Regions from separate parts of the Homo sapiens genome. Here region 1 is linked to region 2. Evidence: promoter capture Hi-C in 16 types of primary human blood cells and fetal thymus (Javierre and others, 2016). All regions are on one chromosome and are shown on one strand. The core of a region is centred on a gene start or on the middle of the fragment in contact, and the rest is flanking DNA. Distances in the headings are between cores, read along the strand shown.

The links. Contacts are between HindIII fragments. The CHiCAGO score rates a contact against its expected background, and 5 or more counts as called.
Region 1: a contact is called between a fragment that was not itself captured here and the fragment with the promoter of PYROXD2 in region 2, in 1 of 17 cell types (naive B cells). The highest score is 5.4, in naive B cells.

Annotation. Positions count from the first base shown.
Region 1 is chr10:98,274,633-98,278,143 of GRCh38, reverse strand. It overlaps LOC124902489 (a long non-coding RNA gene), which reads right to left. Exons shown (of 2, transcript XR_007062260.1): 2 at 1-3,511. Among named protein-coding and RNA genes, the nearest start is that of LOXL4, 8.2 kb to the right of the region's middle. The HindIII fragment of the contact is 224 bases long and covers 1,722-1,945 here.
Region 2 is chr10:98,413,312-98,416,574 of GRCh38, reverse strand. PYROXD2 (pyridine nucleotide-disulphide oxidoreductase domain 2) reads left to right here and starts at 1,393. Exons shown (of 16, transcript NM_032709.3): 1 at 1,393-1,566. The coding sequence starts at 1,440. HPS1 (HPS1 biogenesis of lysosomal organelles complex 3 subunit 1) reads left to right here. Exons shown (of 20, transcript NM_000195.5): 20 at 1-377. The HindIII fragment of the contact is 3,850 bases long and covers 1-3,263 here.

The DNA.
Region 1 (3,511 bases), core at 584-3,083, 140 kb after region 2:
ACAGAAAATATACAGTCAATACAAAAGAAATCGATTGTATTTTTAGGTACTAGCAATAACCAATCAGAAATTTTTAAAAATTTTAAGCACCATTTACAATATTACCAAAATATGTAATACTCAGGCATAAGTCTAAAAAAATTATGTTTTGTGTGGAATCTTTATGCTGAAAACTACAAATCACTGATTAAAGAAATCAAAGACTAAACTTTGGTTACGAATTGGAAGACCCAATTTTCTTAAAATGTCATCTCTCCTCAAACTCATCTATGAATTCAGTGTAATCCCAATGAAAATCCCAGCAGGTTTTTTTTTTAAATAAATTGACAGGCTGAAATATATATATGGAAAGACATTCTAAAATGTATATGGAGGCTGGGTGTGGTGACTCACACCTGTAATCCCAGCACTTTGGGAGGCTGAGGTGAGCGGAACACTTCAGGTCAAGAGTTCAGGACCAGCCTGGCCAACATGGCAAAACCCCATCTCTACTAAAAATACAAAAACTACTTGGGTGTGGTGGCACACACCTGTTGCCCCAGCTACTCGGGAGGCTGAGGCAGGAGAATTGCTTGAACTCAGGAGGCAGAGGTTGCAGTGAGCCAAGGTTGCACCATTGCACTCTAGCCTGGGTGACAGAGTGAGACTTTGTCTTAAAAATAAATAAATAAACAAATAAAATATATATGGAAAGGCAAAGGAGCTAGAATAAACAAAGCAATTTTGAAAAAGAATCAAGTTGGAGGACTCACACATTCTGATGTAAGACTTACATGGAACTATAATAACCAACATGGTGTGATACTGGTGAAGAAACAGACTGTAGGCCAATGGAACAGAATAGAGTACAGATGGCACACTGTAGAACAGGGTGGAGTCAGGCATTTTCCTCATTACAGAGGAAAGGTAGCACTGTTCTGTGCCTTGAGAGGTGGCAGCTTTAGGAGCTGCTAACCCCCTGGCGTGGACAGCAGCAATTTTTGCAGTGGGCACTAGCCACAAATACTTGAAAAGTTTTTTTACAAAGCTTCTTAGGTAATGAACATCAAGGGTTGGGGAGGGGAGGGTGCAAAGCTGGGTGGGAAGATTATGGAAGATGCTGCAATCTAACCGTGGCTTACAGCCTGCTTTATGAGTACATGCTGGCCACGCTTGAAAACTCCTAGATGCAAACTGAGTGAGAATTTGACTGGAGCAGTGGGTGGGGGGCATGGTGCTAGAAGCGCTCACTGAATAGTAGAGAGAAGAACCAGAAAGTATGGCCATTATCATTAGTGTGACCCCAGCACTGTCCTGGAGCCTGGGAAACTTGGGTTATGTTGACTTTTCTGGACCCCCAAAGTGGCTACATAAATCATGGGTGCTCCATAAATATGTGCTGAATGAATAAGCGAATGAATGATCTCATCTATACAAATAGATTTCACTGGTTTATGTAATTCATATAGTGATATGAACATAATCCATGACTTAAACCGAGGGCAGGATCCGGGTCTTTCTCTCTTGGTGTCCCCATGGTGCCTAGTCAAGTGTTTTCTGTACAGATACAATGGCTCCATGCCCAAGACTTAGCACAGAGCAGCACCCACCTTGAATGAGACACATTCACCTATTAGCTCTGATGTAAGAATCCTTGCCAGAGGCCTAAGGCGTTACCCCAAGTTCCTGTCACACCACCTCACCACAGTGACAGCAATTCAGAGTGCTGGTGGGCAGAAGCTTGTTTTCATTAACTGGTAATGAAGAGGAAATTATTTCTCCTCCAAAGTTATGTTTCTGCTGATATCTTGGTGAAATTCCTTCTTTCCCACCTTGTTTATTGGTATGAAATGCTAAAAAGAGACATCATTTATCTACATTTTTTTCTGGATGGATCAGTCAACACTTTAGAGGTCAACCTGTCCTAAGAAAGGTGGTTTTCAGTTAATGGCTAGGAAATGAAGCTTTTCTTGTCCTTTCTGAGCAGTTTTCTTCTTCTTCTTCTTCTTCTTCTTCTTCTTCTTCTTCTTCTTCTTCTTCTTCTTCTTCTTCTTCCTTTTCCTCCTCTTCCTCTTCTTCCTCTTCCTCTTTTTCTTCTCCTTTCTTCTTCTTCTTCTTCTTCTTCTTCTTGTTCTTCTTCTTCTTCTTCTTCTTCTTCTTCTTCTTCTTCTTCTTCTTTTTTGTAAACAAATCAACAACCTTGCAGCTATTTAACTCTTTTTTGGCCACAAAGACGTATCCAGAATGGTCTATGAGGAAGAATGATATATCCAGAATGGCCCAAGACTAAGAATTATCTCTGCAACTCTGGATCCACTGTGAATTATGAAAGCCAGAACCAACTCCAAGAAGAAGGAGAAGGCGTTTGTAACAGGCTCCGGGTCTCTTCTGCCTGCCCAGAGCTAGGCATCAATGACATCTTTTGGCCAGCTGGTCTCCGGGAAGATCTCAGACTTCAGTCTGATGTTCACAGTGGCACTGACTTTTGTGTTGTTGAATAGATGTTGAAATTCCCGTCATGCAGGAAGATTCTGTCAGAATCTAGATGTTGGCCTGACCTCCCCTTCCTGACCCAGCAAAGGTAGGGCCCCCTGAAGACAACAAGAGGAATTCCCACCACCACAATGATGGGCTCCTTGGGGAAATGGAGGTCCTTATAGAACTCTAAGCAGAACATGGCTCTCCCACTCCACATGAAGAGGTTGGAACCCATTTGGAAATAACTGAGATGTAGAAGGCCGTGCTTCCCAAAAACTGTGCTTCCCCAAAACTCAGCCTGACATCTGTGGAAGAGGTTCCTCAGAATGCAAGAGGGCCCCTGCCTGCCAGACAGGTCTGGGACTCCAAGGATAATTGCACCTGCAGGGCTCCAGACTCTGTCAGACCAAACATTGTCCAAAGGTGTGGTCTAGAAAAGAGGTTCTCAGATGATAGCAGGCATTAGAATTATCTGGAGGATGTGTTAGAACACAGATGCTGGGCCCCATCGCCACCAGGTTTCTGATTCAGTGGCTCTGCAGTGGGGCCTAAGAATTGGCGTTTCAAACACAGTCCTGGGCCATGCTGATGGTGCTGATCCAGAACCACACTCAAAGAGCCGCTGGACTAGAAGTGGGGGTTGCTCTGCTGCCCTCCTGCTCTGTCTGGTGGCATCTGAACAGGTTCATCAGACTGAGCCCTGGCTTCTGACAGGGCTTGTCCTTCTCCTTTCCACCCTCAGTCCTGACTTCTTGCTTGGACTTTGATAACACTTTGATGCCAATGGCTCTACATCTCGCTCCTGGCTCTCTGGCTCTGGTCTTGGCTTAGGTCCTGCTTGATCCAGGGATCTCCCTTGACCTCTGTGTCAGGTCCCCTGCCTCTCTGCCCCTCCAAGTCAGGTCAAGGGAATTCCCCACCAGGACAGCTCTTGTCTATCCCTTCGCGGTTCCTGGAAGCTAAAGATGAGCTGGTTACATGAAAATTAACCTTTGGAATCTGTCAGTCCCAGTCTTGAATGATCATACATTCTGGCTGGTAGATAAAACCAATT
Region 2 (3,263 bases), core at 144-2,643:
AGCCAAAATTTGCTCAAAGACTGATCTCTTCCTTGCAGGGAACAGCTTTGGGGCTGGGGGAACTAGAACCCACATGTTGGTCTAAACCCTGAGAAGGTGGCAGTGAGGAAGTATCCCCTCAGGTGACTGGATCTGTGTTCCTCCTTAACATCATCTGATGGAATGGCAATGAAAAGCGTGGATTGTGGAAAATACAGAAAAACATAAAGGAAAAAACTCCAATCCCCTGAGCCCACCACTGTTCAGGACCCCTGCTTTTGTCACCTACTATTTCCCTTTAGTTTTTAGCAGCGGCTGGATGTGATATGTCTAGTTTAACCAGTCCCCTTGATCTTTCTATATAATAAATAACACAGGAGTGAACATCCTGAATCAGATCTTAGCAGAGATGCTCACATGCGGGGTAACTGTCCATGGTGTGTGGAGGGGTCCTCGGAACCCCCTCTTAGGATCATCTCCACATACTCTCCCAGTTCTGAGATTCGTTACCAATAGCAGGTTTCCGTCACACTGCGATATCAGAGCAGTGCAGGAACTCTCCGCTCCAAGGGGTTTTTTCCTCCTAGGGGAACACTCTGCTAAGTAATGGGCAGAGAACAAAGGGGCTCCTAATTCAAGGCAGGCCTAAGGGAGGGTCAGAAAGAACTTTAGCTGGAGGTATTTACAGATGTGACCTCGAATCCTTGGGGATTCTTGGAAAATGGGCAAGGTGCCAAAAGAGGAGAACTGGCCAGGCCTTCAAAACTAAAACACCAGAGAATTACAGACAGCGAACTTGCCCCTAAGCCCTCGTTGTGGGTTTGTGTTTGAGCATTTAGGAGAGGACTCCAGTGCTCCTCAGCGACAGACACAGCTGCCTCTGCGGTGTCTGAAGGCCCTGGTCGTGGTGACGCTAGATGGCCGCCCTGGGCGCCTCCTGTGGGCGTAGAGGCATCACCACTCTGCACTGGCAGACTCAGCATGGAGTTGGAGCAGAGTCTGACACGAGCACTTGCCATCCCAGGCGTTTCAGTTCTGACTGAGAAGGTAGATGCACAGGGGAGGAGAGGGCCCTTTCGAGCTCCACTCTGCCTCCACCACTCATTCCCTAACCCCGCAGCCTCAGCGCCCTCATCTGTAAAATGGGGAGTTTTGCCTACAGGGTTCAGCACAATGCCAGCCTGACATAGGAACCCCAGTGGATTGTCAGTTTTGCCATTATCCCCTGCATCCTGGAGGTGACACCGCCTGGTTAATAGGCAACACTCCCGACGGCCCAGCACAGCCCCAGGGCAGCAGGAGGCTGGCCTGTGGCCAAGAATGCATGGTGGAGGGGGCCTGGAGGGGGACTGCAGCTCCTCCTCTTCCTGCTTCCTCCCTGCTCCACCCCGTGCCTAGGGCAGCACAAAAGCCAATCGCTAGCAAACTCCCTGCCTAGCAAGGCCCAGCCTGGGGCAGAAATGGCTGCAAGTGGCCGAGGTCTCTGCAAGGCTGTGGCCGCCTCTCCCTTCCCGGCGTGGAGACGAGATAACACGGAAGCCAGGGGAGGTCTGAAGCCTGAGTATGATGCGGTGGTGATAGGAGCAGGTAAAGTGGTAAAGCAGGCCGGGCCAGAGCTGAGGGGCGGGAAGACAGCCCTGCTCAGAGCTTGGTGGGGAGGGGGAGGGGGAGCCAAGCCCCACTGCTCTCTCCTCTGGCATAACCCAGCCAGAAGTTTATACGCTAGCAGGGGCTGCAATGGAAAGCCCTTCCATCTGGCAGGCAGGCACCTGGGATTCCGGTGCTGGCTCTGCTGTGTGGCCTGGGGCAAATGCTTGCCTTCTCTGGGCTTGGATCTTCCCATGGAGAATGACAGGAAGACTAGGTGAGCTCAGGGGTTTCCCTATATCTCTTGCAAAGTGACCTAGTTTCCACCACATTCTCAGCCTATGGTTTGTAAGGGTTGGAAAGAGCCCTGGGCCAACAGACAAGTGAAATCCAGCACCCCGCCCCCTCAGTGCCCTGAGTTCTGGTCACCACTACCTTACCACTGAGGCCACCCCTCGTCACAAGAAACTGCAGTCATTTCATAAAGGCCAGTTAGGATAAAACAGAACTGAGTCCCAGAGTTCCTACTGCGTGTCTGCAGAGGGAGATGGACCCCATTGCCTTGCAGCTCTGGGACATTTGGGGATCTGCAGTGATCTGCCACACTTTGCCAACCCCTGGGCTCAGAGTATCACAGTCTACTGGGTGCTAGGGGAAGAGGCAGGCCCAGGACCAGGTGGTCTTTCCTTAGTGCCTTCCTTTCACACTTGCAGAGGGCCCCAAATGCATGATTGCCAACTGGGTCTATACAGAGATAATGACGGGACCGAAAGCAGACGGCACTCAACATGCAGCTTTGAGGGCATGCCTTCATTTTCATATGTACTAGAGCAGTTGCGAGCTGGTAGATACTCAACACTCACCTCTCCAGGGAAAAATGTGTGATGTATGTGTGTGTGTACATGTATATATATGTATATATACACACATATATGTGTATATATATGTATATGTGTTACGTACATATATATACACATATACACATGCTTATTTTAAATATTGAAATAAAAGATACACTGCACACAATTTTACAAATAAAGATACAATACTCTCAATTTAAATGCAGTCTACCCGAGTGATTCTTACCAAAGGCTTTCTTTGATTTTTGCCAAACTCAGTAGCCAACCTATAGTTGCAAATGACAAATGAGGGTAGCTCCAAAGAGAACGGTGCTCCATATTTTCTGTAAAGAGTAGGATGATCGTGAAACAAATGAAACAACAAAGATTTATGTCCCAACCTTACTCCTTTATTTTTTAAAATTTATTTTTATTTTATTTATTTATTCATTTATTGAGATGGAGTCTTGCTCTGTTGCCCAGGCTGGAGTGCAGCGGCGCAATCTCGGCTCACTGCAACCTCCGCCTCCTGGGTTCAAGCGATTCTCTTGCCTCAGCCTCCCGAGTAGCTGGGACTACAGGCGCCCACCACCACGCCCGGCTAATTTTTGTATTTTTAGTAGAGACGGGGTTTCACCATGTTGGCGAGGCTGATCTCAAACTCCTGGCCTTGTGATCCACCTGCCTCAGCCTCCCAAAGGGCTGGGATTACAGGTGTGAGCCACTGCGCCCGGCCTCCTTCTTTAAATGACAGGAATGATGTTACTCAAATAAGATAATATTGTTCTAATACTAGAATATTTCCTTCAATTTTTGTGCTATTTATTCATGCTATAACAGCTAACACTGTTAGGTTTA